Linked DNA regions of Homo sapiens: region 2 is linked to region 1. Evidence: promoter capture Hi-C in 16 types of primary human blood cells and fetal thymus (Javierre and others, 2016). All regions are on one chromosome and are shown on one strand. Each heading gives the region's core, a stretch centred on a gene start or on the middle of the fragment in contact. The rest is flanking DNA. Distances are from core to core; before and after follow the strand shown.

The links. Contacts are between HindIII fragments. The CHiCAGO score rates a contact against its expected background, and 5 or more counts as called.
Region 2: a contact is called between a fragment that was not itself captured here and the fragment with the promoter of TRAF5 in region 1, in 1 of 17 cell types (M2 macrophages). The highest score is 6.4, in M2 macrophages.

Annotation. Positions count from the first base shown.
Region 1 is chr1:211,322,946-211,329,846 of GRCh38, reverse strand. It overlaps TRAF5 (TNF receptor associated factor 5), which reads right to left and starts at 3,014. Exons shown (of 11, transcript NM_001033910.3): 1 at 2,958-3,014. RefSeq lists a silencer at 2,720-3,089 and enhancers at 3,150-3,539, 3,809-4,310. The HindIII fragment of the contact is 10,339 bases long and covers 1-6,901 here.
Region 2 is chr1:211,646,210-211,653,110 of GRCh38, reverse strand. The region is part of intron 2 of NTRAS (non-coding transcript regulating alternative splicing); the gene reads right to left. Among named protein-coding and RNA genes, the nearest start is that of NTRAS, 9.9 kb to the right of the region's middle. RefSeq lists an enhancer at 3,810-4,104. The HindIII fragment of the contact is 4,857 bases long and covers 962-5,818 here.

The DNA of each region.
Region 1 (6,901 bases), core at 1,765-4,264:
GGACTCCCTCTGCCCTGCAGCGTGTTCTCCTCTGCCCCAACACACACAGATACTCACTTGCTACACCTCTGCTGGAGCTAGAACTCCTATCCAGAATCCCAGAAAAAGCCACAACCTGGGCAGAAAAAAGCTCTTCAGAGACTGAGTCAGACACTGACCCCTGATCAGTGACAAAGGTGTCAGGCAGCTTTTGATGACTGTCTCGCTGGTTCTCTCATCCTCCTCCTGCCCAGAATCCTGGCTTCCTTTAATTAAGATACTATGGGAAAAACACAGGAATTGGAGAAAGAAGACTTGGGATTAGGTCCTGCCCCATCCCTACATGCTGTGAGGTCTTTCAAATCACTTCTGAGCCTCAGCTTGCAACCAGGTAAAGTGGAAGGAATAGCATGTGCCTCTCCCTTCTCCTGAGGAGGTAGTGAGAAGTTAATCAGATGAGATGGGCTTCTCGTAAGCTGTACAGTGTTATTCTAATTTCTGGATTTAAGCAAGTCCTGCTGGGAGCTCAACCTCTCTCTGCCAAGCCTACCCAGCACTTGTTCCTGGCAGCTCAGACCCCAAGGGAGACGTACCCTGAATGAATTCAATTCGATTCAGCAAACATCTGTTTAGGCCTACTCTATGCCAGGTTCCAAGACACACATGAAAACAGACAAGGGTCTTGCCCGGAGTTTGCCTGGCTAGGCAGAGCTAACAGAGTGGATGTCTGTTCTTGTGGTGGTTAGGCCAGAGTCTCCAGCAGAACTTGCTCCATGTTGCTGGGGACAGACCACAGAGGCATTATCAGAATCTGGGTCCCCTTGCTGACCCCTCAGACGGAGGAAGAGGTGGGCAGATATGGCTCTCTGAGAAGCCAGGGTGAGGGGCCTGGAGCAGGGGAACAAGACACCTCAATGCTCTGATCCTGGTCCAGCAGTGGAGCTCAGGGAGCTATTTACCGCCTCAGTGCTTCACCCTCACAATCTGAGAGATGTAGAGAATAAGCCTGCTCTAACTCATGAGGGCGTCATGGAGGACGAAATGAGAACAAAACGACAAGAACAAAGAGAAAATGCTTTGCAAAGGAACGAGCTTTACAAACAAATAATTATTTTTCCTTCAAGGTCCTCCCCAGTAAAGCTGAGCTAATCAGAGGAGGTTTGTCTAAGTACTGAGGTGCCTTTCCCACTGCAAGCCTAACAAGACTGACTCTGAGGCATCTAGCTCCCCGACTGTGCAAATCATCCCCACTGAAACATCCCAGTCCCTATCGTCAGGACGTTCAGTGGACGGCAGCTCTTTTCCACACTCTTTCCATCGCCCTACTACCCAAGTCCAGCGGGCTTGCTGCTGACAGAGGGAAATACCACCATCCTACCCTGCCCGTCACAACAGGCCTCTCAGCCCAGAGGCCGTGGGAGAAGTCGCCTTCTCCATCACTTCCCATGTTCCAGATGCTGGCTCAGACACTTTCTCCTGCCTCTGTCCAGGAGCCAGGGATCTGAGAGGTGATCCATTCCATAGAGTTACAACAAAAACAGTAACTGTAACAAAATCAAAAACCTTTACAGAAGCTAGGCGTTTTCCACTTCCATCTTACATCCATCGTTCCTGCAGCAATTTCTGTCTTTCTAGTTCAAATTAGAGTTAGGGATGGAAGTGTTTCCACCCAAACCATCAATTACATTAACACCCCTGTTTTCAGCTTTGTGAGTACATAAGGCAGAGCAGCTGCACTGGGATTTGAGAGTTCCTAGCCCAGCCTTTTGCTGCCTAAAATTATCTCGCACACACCCAAAACTGTTCTATTTCCAGAAATGGTTCAACTAATTTCTTTGCATCTCAGGTCTTCCAGAGCCCTTTTAAAATGCAAGTATCTCTGGAGGAAATAACCATATTCCACTGGCCCCAGCCCAGTTCTCACACAGCACCTGCCCAATAAATATTTACAGAATTAAACTGGTTACCAGATGCCTATCCTCACAGGAGGTGGGTCAGAGCCCAAGGCTATGGAGGGTGGGGGCTGCAGGGGCAGCCCTGGCAGGGAGCCTCGCCTGGTTTCACCAACCTCAATGCTCGCCTGAGGCAGCTCTGCCTGCCACAGCGAGATAACTGAGTTCTCATGAAAGTAAATCTGAAATACCCAAATATGGAAACTTAGCAGAAGGAGGCCGAATGAGCAGAGAAAGTCGGCCAGCCAGAGTGGCCCAGTGGGACCCGCAGCAAGAGCGTGGCCCCGAAAATTCTCAGAACCACCAAGACCCTGCAGAACAGGAACAAAGTGGAGACCATCTGGTACGGAGAACTCAGAATCTGCGAATTCTCTGGGTGCCTCTGGGCAACTCCTTCCACCTCTCGGAGCTTTGGTTTGCGTCAAGGTTCCTTAGAGCTCGCCTTCTGGGGGAGGGGGGTAGCTGCTTTCTAAAGGAAGACGCGCAAACGAACAGCTGGTAGAGGCTTCCATTCCTTGCAATCCTGAAGTTTCATTCTGGAGTTGCTTTGATTGGAAAGCCCTGCAAAGGTGGAGAGGGTGCCTTCGGGTGCGGAAGGGGGCCAGGGCCTGGTTTGCAGTGCGGATGTGCGGGACGTGCCTGAAAGTCCTCCCCGCCAGTGCACCCCGACGGAACCTGGCCCCTCCGGTCCACAGCCGCCCTCTGGACCAGCTCCCCAGCTTTGGACCCCCAGTCTCCGCCCTCGCCACACCTCTCCCCGGCTAAGAAACCCGCTCCGCACCGCTCCCGCTGTCCCCGGGCCGTCGGCGGTCACCTGCCCCGCCGGTCTCCCGCAAGCCCGGGCCCCTCCGCCTCCCCCGGCCCAGCCGCCGCCTCGCGCCCTCCCCGCCGGTCGGGGACCGGCCGGACGCCAGCAGGCGCTTTCGGTTTCAAAGTAACTGGGACGAGATGAAAAGCGCTCGTCGGTGTCCCCACCCCGGCCCTTCCGTCGCGAGGGTGCCCAGGGCGGCGACCCGCCGGACTCACGTGGGGCTCGGCGCGCGGGCTCCGCGAGGCCGGTCTGCAGGCGCGGCTGCTGCTCCTGGCTGCGGCCGGCGGCGGCGGCGAAGCGGAGGCGAGGCCTGGGGCGGGGCCGGGGCGCGGGCGGAGGGGCGCGGGCGGGCGCAGGGGAAGAGCGGACGCGCAGGAAGGGGTCGGGAGGAGGCTGAGACCGTCATCCAGGCGGTTGGAAAGCTAACCTACCCGCTTCAGAACCGTTAGTATCTACAAGTCCAGTCATCTGATTTCCCTCACGTGCGTCTGAATTGTGGCCGTCTTGCTCTTCCGTCAGGCACAACAAGGCTCAGCCCGTCCTCTCCTGTGTTGACCCATTTGCTCAAGGCCTTGCTTGAGATCTGGCTCAAATCAGTCCTTCCTGGACTTTCCTTCAGGGTAGCACAAATTTGCCAGCCCTCCTCTTGCTGTTGGCCTAACACCAGCAATCTCTGAGAGTTGTAGAGCTCCCCGGTTGGCTTCCCAAACATCTCCTGTGGTCCTCAAAACAAGCTGGTGAAGTAGGCCTGGTCATCCCCATTTTACAGATGAGCTGTCTGAGGGCCAGAGCAGCAACGTGGAGTGACGTACCCAAGGTTAGACACGCTCAGCAAGCTCTGCAGCTGGAACTTGAATCCAGGTCTGCTGTCTGCCTGTCTCTCTCCCTCTCTCTCTCTCTATACGTATTTTTTATTTTATTTTATTTTTTGAGACGGAGTCTCGCTCTCACGCCAGGCTGGAGTGCGGTGACGCGATCTCGGCTCACTGCAACCCTGGCCTCCCAGGTTCAAGCAATTCTCCTGCCTCAGCCTCCCGAGTAGCTGGGATTACAAGCATGTGCCACCACGCCGGGCTAATTTTTGTACTTTTAGTAGAGACGGGGTTTCACCATGTTGGTCAGGCTGGTCTCATCTCTTGACCTTGTGATCCGCCTGCCTTGCCCTCCCAACAGGCGTGAGCCACCGCGCTTGGCCTGCGCACTCTTAGATACGGGCTCTTTCTTACAATATATTCTCTCCAAGGGCAATACATTCTATATAAATGAAATGGACCAAAATTCCAATTCTATCTAGATCCTTTACTTTCAGTTAGGCCACCGTGGGAAAAGTACTTAACTGCTCTGAGTTTCAGTTACCGTCCTCGTCAATAAAAGGGGAGAATAATACACACCTTGGGAGTCAAAAACTCAGATGTGCACAGGAGCTCGGCAGGAAACATACAGGAGGGAGGCAGAGGTTGTGGTCATGGAGAAAGGAGGGAGGCGCTGGTGCACTAAAGAGCAGGTGGAGGATCTAGTGGAGCAGCCACCACCCAGTGCCAGCCTATTGTTACCTGATCTCTTATTTCTCCAAAGAGCCAGAAATCCAGATCCAAACCTTTTTTGGTTGGTGAGTTAGATGAACCGCTCCGTGGGGGAGAGGCACTGGTGGGTGTTGCTTTGGGACTGTAGATCTGTCTCATAATCTTCTCATGAGAATTAAATGAGATGGCACTCCTGTACGCCTAACACAGAGTAGGTGCTTAGTGAACCCAAGTTCTCCTTCCTGTTCTGCCATACACTATACTTTCCCTCTCTTTTTGTGGGTGTGTATTTTTTGAGAGAGGTTCTCACTCTGTCACCCAGGCTGGAGTGCAGGGGCATGATCACAGCTCACTGCAGGCTGGATCTCCTGGGCTCAAGTAATTCTGCCGCTTCAGCCCCCAGAGTAGCTGGGACTACAGGCACACACCACTACGCCCACCTCCCCCAGCTCCTTTTTTTTTTTTTTTTTTTTTGAAGAGATGGAGACTTACTATGTTGCCCAGGCTGGTCTCAAACTCCTGGGTTTAAGCGATCCTCCCACCTCGACCTCCCAAAGTGCTGGGATTAAATGTGCAAGCCACTACGTCCCACCCGCTTTCTCTTACCATTGCCTGCTTCTTGCCTCTCTTCTCATTACTTCCAAGCATAATAAAGTTGATACTGTTTTTTAGAAGTTATATCTCCTTTCACTGGCTGGAACATCAGTGTCTAGTATGCATACATGCAGGTATGCTCAGAATCCCTGGTCCTGTCATTGACTGTAATTTGCTTCTCTCTCCTACTCCTCTCCCCACCAACTAAATAAAGCAGTCAATTGTTCCAAAAATTACATCCAAGCCTTAAATATGATGGAATAAAACCTGGGATAGAGAGGTGGATCTTTATTGTGGTGGGAAATGGGGGCCGCATAACTCGAGGGCTGCGTCTAAGTGGAAAGGGTAAAGGAATTTTAGACGGGTATTAGTCAGAAGTCAGTAACATAGTCCCAATTCCCTGTTGATCATAAAGCGGAATTTGAATCCTGTATGTACATAAATGCACATATAAAAAAACATTAAATACCTTCAAGTGATAACTAACGTTTATTAAGGTTTCTTTTTTTTTTTTTTAGATGGAATCTCGCTCTGTCACCCAGGATAGAGTGCAGTGGCGTGATCTTGGCTCACTGCAACCTCCACGTCCTGGGTTTAAACAATTCTCCCACCTCAGCCTCCCGAGTAGCTGGGACTATAGGCGTGCACCACCACACCTAGCTAATTTTTGTATTTTTAGTAGAGATGGAATTTCGCCATGTTGGCCAGGCTGGTCTCAGATTCCTGATCCCAAGTGATCCACCCACCTCGGCCTACCAAAGTGCTGGGATTATAGGCATGAGCCTCTGTGCCCGGCCTATTACGTTTTATATACCAGGTACTGTGCTCAGTGTTTTTTATATTAACTCATTTAATAATCAACTCCATTTTATAGATGGAAAATCTTATCTATTGAGCAATTTGCCCAGAATCACAAAATTCTTAGTTTGAGAGAGGCAGAATTTGAATTCTGGGAAGTCTGGTTCTGGTACTCCTAGCCACTATACCCTACCCCTCAAATAAATGACTGATGTGAATTCAAACAAAACAACTTAAAGACAAATTTTAGTACTTTTAGTGTTTTGAAAATATTCAGCATTAAGTTCAACATTATATCTAACATTGAAGAGAATCCAACCTTCAAACTAAATTCAGCTACAAAATAAGACCAGGGCTGAACTATACACTACAGTTTTATGCAGAAGAAAAGCACTAACCCTTTTATCTGTTGCTTCTAGACACCGTAAGATTGCCCCAGACGCCCGAAGACATGGATTTCAGCTGTTTAATTTGCTGTATAAATTAGGGTGAGAGACTGCAGCCCTGGCTGCCAATGTAAAGATGGTGCTGATGGAGAGGTGAGGACGCCGCCTACTGGAATAGTAGATGGATGCATTATCTTCCTCAGGCTGCTCCTCTGTGACGAGACTGATCAATGTAGTGAGTTAGCTTGCAGGGCAAAAGTTCATACTTCCCATCACCTAGAGATCAGTGAGATCAGATAAGGAGGGAAAATCCTCTCCTTGGGCCATAGATTGCGACTTTGACTCCATTGCAAGTTACAATGGAAAGTCTTTGTCTGTAAACAGAACCACACATGGAAAATGTGATATACTGTAGCAGCAAACCACTTCCAGGCAAAATGCAGATCTCAGGGTCTTGTGCACAGAGAATACTCAGCTTGCTCACTAAGTAGGTGTTGTATTGAGACAATATATGAATGACTGATCCCTCTGCTTCCATCAAATAACCTTTAGCTCAGCTCTGCCTGTCAGTGTGCTGACCACCACAAGAAGAGAGGCGGGGAGTACTGGGATGGGGCAGGGACCGATGTAAATTTTTTTAAGCCTCCCTTTGCAAAAGAACCTGTGTATGTGCATTCAGCAGCTGCACCTTTAACTTAGGAGCTTAAGAAAAAACCATGTTTCTTTTGTTCTACCTTGTTTTACTCTATTGTTATTTACTGTGTTATAGGGTCAGCACCAGTTGAAAAAAGCAGACCTGTACTGTTCCTATGGCCATATATTATGTATTTATTCCAGGGGATCCCCTGCTTGATACAT
Region 2 (6,901 bases), core at 2,141-4,640, 320 kb before region 1:
CAGAATCACCGGTCCCAGTGCTATCCTTAAGAATCTCGTGCTTAAGGCCAGGCTCGGTGGCTCATGCCTGTAATCCCAGCACTTTGGGAGGCCGAGGCGGGTGGATCACTTGAGGCCAGGAGTTCAAGACCAGCCTGGCCAACATGGTGAAATGCCGTGTCTACTAAAAATACATAAATTAGCCAGGCGTGGTGGTGCATGCCTGTAATCCCAGCTACTCGGGAGGCTGAGGCAGGAGAGTCACTTGAACCTGGGAGATGGAGGTTGCAGTGAGCCAAGATTGTGCCACTGCACTCCAGCTTGACCAACAGACTGAAACTCTGTCTCAAAAAAAAAAAAAAACAAACAGAAAAAACAGCAACAACAAAAAACAACCTTGTGGTTGATTAACTGCAGGAGTGGTCATAACATAAAGAAGACCCCCATTAGGGTGTGGCCCCAAAGCACATGCTGGGGGGACCCCACAGCGGTTCACTGACAGCCTCAGGGCTTGCCAGAAATCTGACCCACACCTCCCCTCAGCTCCCTCTCAGCGCCGTGTTGGCCTGCCTGCTGCCAAGACAGGATCCAGGTGGTCCCTTCTGGGGCCCAAACTCTGAACACAGAGAGCTGAGATACCCTGGCTTGGACACTCACCGTTGCCCTGAGCCTGGCTTGCTTGTTTCACCTCTCTGCGCTTCAGTGTCCTCATCTGTGCAATGGGGATGTTAACAATGGCAAAGATCAAGAGGGAATACGCCATAGGCAAGGACCTAGAACAGTACCTACTTACAAAGTTATTTCACTTGGCTTCAGGAGAGATTTAAAGTGGCTTATACGAATACATGGTTATAATAAAATGCATATGTTAAAAGCAAGGAGGAAGAAGACAAGCTAGGGTGAAGCCAGGGATCAGTCCTGCATGAGAATTAGACATGATCATACACTTACCGTTGTTGGACCACAAATCTGTCTCTAAGCTTCCTAGTGGCCAAAACAAAAAAGGGCAAATGGATAGTTATGCCCTAGAGGCCTGTAAAATAAAGGCAGTTCACTTGCTCAGGTAATATTGAACCACTCTGGATGCTAAGGCAAGGCTTTTCTCCTTTGCGTCCTTAGACAAGGGACAGTGTGGTAGAAGGAGCGTCCTCCTCTGTGACATCTGTGAAGTGTGTGCCACCCCTTCTCACCTCTACCCTCCATGTAGCCTGCTGGCATCACTTGAAGCTCAAGTCAGCAAAAGCTATTGTAGCTGGGAGAGTAGTTTTCAAGTATGTTCATGTGTTTCTCTCTTTCTCCATTCTGTATATTTGCCTCTTTCCCCAGTGCCATTTTCAAGAAGAATGGACTGAGGAGGACTGGGATTGTTACAGCAAGAATGTCAAGAGAAAGACAAAGTCCTTATGCAGCCAGTGACATCCAAGGCATGGAGGCAAGATAGTTGAGTCTGCAGCATCTAGAAGTCAAACTTTGACAAGAGAGAGAAGGGTTTCCTAAATTTGCTGAGTTCCACTAACATATTAAGAACCAGGCCTGGCGGACCAGATCCAGGAGTCTGACATAAGCTAAGGAGAACACGCTGCCAGGATGTGCTGCAAGCCAGCACCGCTTCTCTGACTTTAATGTGCATGTGAATCACCCGGGCACCTTGTTAACATACAAGCCCTGGTTCCGCAAGTCCATGGTGGGGCTTGAGAGTCTACATTTCTAATAAGCTCTGGGGATACTGATGCAGCTCGTCCGTGGCCCACTGTCTAGTGGCAAAGATGTTAAGGATATCAAGGCTAAAACTGAAAGGGATTAGAGCTCCCCTCCAGGCCCAGGAAACTGGGAAGAAGATGGGCTGAGGTTGGGGACCTGGGTGGTCACACTCGTGGGCTGATCTTCCTACTGCAGGCTAAAGTCCCAGGGTAGAGGACTGGATTGGTGGGAGTTGGGTGGGGTGAGCAGTTGAATAGATTGAGAGAAAAGGCAAACACAGAGTATTTTGTGCCCTGACCCCCATTTAGAACTTCGTTAGCCTGGTGGTGGCGGCGGGGGGGCGTTGGGAAAGGGGAGGGTGCTCTGCTGAGGACAGGGGAGTATTTGGTTTGACATTCCCAAAGCCCTTGATGCCACGTAATGTGGGAGGAACTGGAAGAGATCCACTTTCTTGTATGTTCCCATGGGGGTTTCCAATGAGGATCTGGCTGGGGGCATAGGGTCTACGTGGGTCTTGGGCTTAATGGGAGTCACAACCATACTTTGGGGGTCAGCAGAGTTTTTGAGAGCAGAGGAGGTGTCCAATGGGTTGTGTAAGCTGGAGGTTACACTCACCAAGGATGTCAACAGCAGATGTCCCCAGGATTGCCAGAGACAGACTGGGCCAGCCCAGCTCATGGACCAGACAGTCACCTAGAGCAGAGAGCTGTGCAAAGAGCAGCTGGGGACCCATCCCACCACTCCCTTGAGCAATGCCATGAGGACTTCCAGAGTTCCTGGTACCACATTACCAAGAGGGCCCAGGAGAAGTGAAGTGGCTCATTAGAGTTGAACTTTGGATTCACTGAATATTTACCCCAGACCAATCAATTGATTAGCCTATCAAATGCTTCTCTCACTAATCATGTAGCAATTGTGGCAATATTAGATTTGTTACAGGTATCAGAAAAAATACCTTTGCTCATCTGGGTAGAGAGGGTGCCCTTTTTTTTTTTTTTTTTTTTTTAGCAGACATACACAGGTGATCTATAATGCTGCTTAACGAATAGTCCTTACTGGCTGGGCATGGTGACTCACACTTGTAATCCCAGCACTTTGGGAGGCCAAGGAGGATGAATCACTTGAGGTCTGGAATTCAAGACCAGCCTGGCCAACATGGTGAAACCCTGTCTTTACTAAAAACACAAAAATTAGCCGGGCGTGGTGGCACACGCCTGTAATCCCAGCTACTCGGGAGGCTGAGGCACAAGAATCTCTTGAGCCTGGGAGGCAGAGGTTGCAGTGAGCCGAGTTCAGGCCATTGCACTCAAGCCTGAGTGACAGAGCAAGACTCTGTCTCAAAAATAAATAAATTAATAAATAGTCCTCACTACTGTTGATGAAAATGCATACCTGGCAGCTTCTGGCTGGGATCAGCAAAGATGCAGGGACACAGGGCTGGGGCCACAGATCTGGGGAGGCCTGGGGGTTCAGCTGGAGGCATCCCCAGAAGCTACAATTTGAGCAGAAGTTGGGAGGAGAGGAGATACCCACATTGGTAAAGAGGGAGCAGAGAAGGGACATAAGAAGGTTTAGGCAAAGTATGGGGGAAGGTCCCATTTATTTGTCCGAGAGCTTCTGTTGCATGCCTGCCATGGAGCCAGGAACCGGGGAGTCAGAAAGATATTCCCTGCCTCATCAGGCTTGCTCTCCAAGGAGAGGATGAAAGGACGCTGCACACCTCTGACCTCTGAACAGGAGCACTGCAGGGAGGTGGTTCTGAGAACCAGGCGTTCAAAATAGTCCTGCCAGTCCCCCTACTGCCCTGCCCTCTGGCTGGAGAGTCTGGAGATGGGGATCTGGATGGTCGGAAGACCAAAGCAGTATATCCCTCACCCCATTCAGATATTTCCCAGGGAGAAGGGGGCAGCCATTTGTATTTAGAAAAAGGTTCCCAGTGAGGGTTCTCTTTTGCCCCTTTCCCCCAGCTTCCCCCAAGGACACACATGCACACCCACCCACCCCCACACAAACACACATGTGTGTGCAAGCTGATGTGTCCAGGGCCTAAAGTTCACGCTGGGGCATGAGGACAGGGGACATAATCTACTGGGAGCAGGAAGAAGACAAGTTGGAAGACCTTTAAAGTCTCTTAGAAGGGATCTGGCTTTATTATTACATATTTTTTCAGTTGCAAATTCACTTTCATCAAGTGCAGCCCCTTATTTTACCATGGGGACCCAGTGGAGGGCAGTAGAGAGGAGGGCTGGCCTGGGCTCACACGGAGCCAGGACTCACGGGGAGCCTGGTGGCCAGGAGTGCTCTCCATAACTCGGAGGCTGCTGGCAGTTCCCCTCCAGCATGCAGGAGAGGATTAATTATTAATTTTGTTTTTTGAGACATATTTTCACTCTGTCACCCAGACTGGAGTGCAGTGGCACAATCTCAGCTCACTGCAACCTCCACCTCCCAGGTTCAAGCGATTCTCCTGTCTCAGCCTCCTGAGTAGCTGAGATTACAGGCATGAGCCACCACATCCGGCTAATTTTTGTATTATTAGTAGAGGCAGGGTTTCGCCATGTTGGCCAGGCTAGTCTTGAGCTCCTGACCTCAAGTGGTCCTCCTGCTTCGGCCTCCCAAAGTGCTGGGATTACAGGAGTGAGCCACCGCACCCAGCCTAATTATTAATTTTTATAACAACCCAGAAACGTATCTGTGAACCATGAGCCCCAACACTTCTTTTCCAAATCCAGCCACTTAATCATGGTTTTAGCTGGGTCAGCTAAAACAGTCCCATCAGCTCAGAAGTGGAAAGCAGTGAAGGCCTTTATCAGCCATTCCTGGGGGCGAAGGCCAAGTTCACTGGGAGCAGCTGGTGGTGTGAGAGCCAATAATATTCTCTAAGAATCTGAGAGGCCTTTGCATATCAGAGCTGGGCCTCATGCTATTCCCTTTCCTGGCATGAGTCATTTCTTACCTTTGTGTTACTTAACTGCAGTTTTCAAAGCACTGTCACAAGACAGGATACCAGACGATTCCCAAACAACACCATAACTAGACTGGGTAGATATTGTTCTCATGGAGAAAATAACGATTCAGAGAGGGAAGTGACCCATCCAAAGTCACACAGACACAAGGACTTCTGTCCTCTGAACGTGACCCCATCCCTGGGCACCTCCCACCTGGAGGAATCCCTGTCTGGGCCATTGTTTTAACACAGGAATATTAATTTAACCCAAGATCCTTGGGTGTGTTTTGGGGTTGTCCATACATCCTCTGAAAGTGTCAACAGCATTTGGGGCATTTGTCTGAGAGTCCATAGAGTTCATCAAATTCTCTCTGATGCTGAACAGTAAGAACAGCAGCTTTCAAATAAGTGGTCCAAAGTCCTACTGTGCAACAGTCACCTGCAGCCATGCCCACCTAATGGGGACTCCTTTTATTGGGTTCTGGGGTTTGCGGGGCACAGCCATGGCCCAGAGCTTGATCAGGCCAGGGAGCTTGCTGCCCAGAAATGTTTGGCTGCCCTTGAATCTGGAACTGTCCAGGCAGCAGACACCAAGCCAGGAGCACCAAGCCAGGCAGCAGACACCAAGCTGGGTCTGACCAGACACTGTCTTTGGAGAGCACGGGCAGCTTCCTTCTAAGAGAGTGGTTATGACTGAGGCAGGTTCAGACACGGCCGCACCTCTGAATAGCCCTGTCCTCAACTAGAGTCTCACCTGGCACTGTGCCCTTAATTTCTACTCCTTCATCTGTAAACGAGAAACACTAGTACCCATTTCATAGCTTTCTATACACTAGGGTGAACTGGCCACAAAATATAATGCAAAAAGTTCCCACTTACAATAGCAAAGCCAAGGAATGAAGTATACAGGAACTGTGCAAAACTCATAACAAAAAATCTGCTGAATGACACTGAGGGACATTAAATAAAAGGCAAAACACACCACACCGAGAACTCAACACTGTCAAATGCCATTTGCCCAAATGCATAAGTCTTATGCAATTCTAATAAAAATATCTAAGATTTACTTTTAATGTGACAAAATGAATTCACCTGGAAATAAATTTATGTATGAATAGAATCATAAAATTTCTGGGAGAAAAAGAACAGGGTGGTTCTGCATTCCCAGACAGTAAAATACATTTTAAAGCTTCAGTGGTAAACAAAAAACAAAAAACCGTGTGAAATGGAAAAAGGACAGGCAGCTCAGTGGAAAAGAAGAGAAGGCCCAGGAACAGATCCTATGTATAAAAAGAAATTGGTAGTGTATGCTGAATGGGATATTCAAATCAGTGATGGAAAGATTCATTGTTTAATAAATGATGTTGGAATAATATGGAAAAACAAAGCTACTAGCCTGGGCAACATGGCAAAATCCCATCTCTACAAAATACACGCACACAAACACACACAAACCCACATACACACACACAAGAAAAGCTAGCCGGGCATGGGGGGCGTGTGCCTGTGGTTGCAGGTACTTGGGAGGCTGAGGATCACTTGAGCCCAGGGAGGTCAAGACTGCAGTGAGCTGAGATCTCGCCACTGCACTCCAGCCTAGGTGACAGAGTGAGACCCTGTCTTTAAAAAAGAAAAGAAAGGAAAGAAAGAAACAGAGAGAGAGAAAGAAAGAAAGAAAGAAAAAGAAAGGAAGGAAGAAAGGAAGAAAGAAAGAAAGAAAGAAAGAAGGAAACAAAAGAAGGAAAGAAGGTAAGGAAGAAAGGAAGGAAGAAAGAAAGAAAGGAAAATAAAAATAAAGCTAGATCCCTGCCTCATCCCAAGTTAAACTCACAATCTTAGTTTCTTCCTATGTAAGATGAAATAAAAATAGTTCCCTGAACATAATAGTAGGGGTGAAGTAAGATTATGCATAAGAATTTCTTAGCCCAATGTCCAACTCATAGTCCCCACCCAATAAGTATTACCTCATATTATTATTAGTGTTATGATTAGTCCAGATGAATTATAATCTAAACATCTAATGACAAAATCATAGCACTACTGAAAATTTAGGCAAATACGTCCCTGATCTCAAGGTGGCAATGGTTTTCATAGAAGCAAAGGAAGAAACCAGCCAAGGCAGGGTGTACCAACAACCTTAAAATGTCCTTATCCTTTGACCCAGCAATTCCAATTTTATGAAGTTTATCCTAAGTATGTGCTCAGATAAATGTGCAAAGATGTTTGTGCAAAAGTGGCTATTGAATGTTTTTTATAACAGCAAAAAATAGGAAC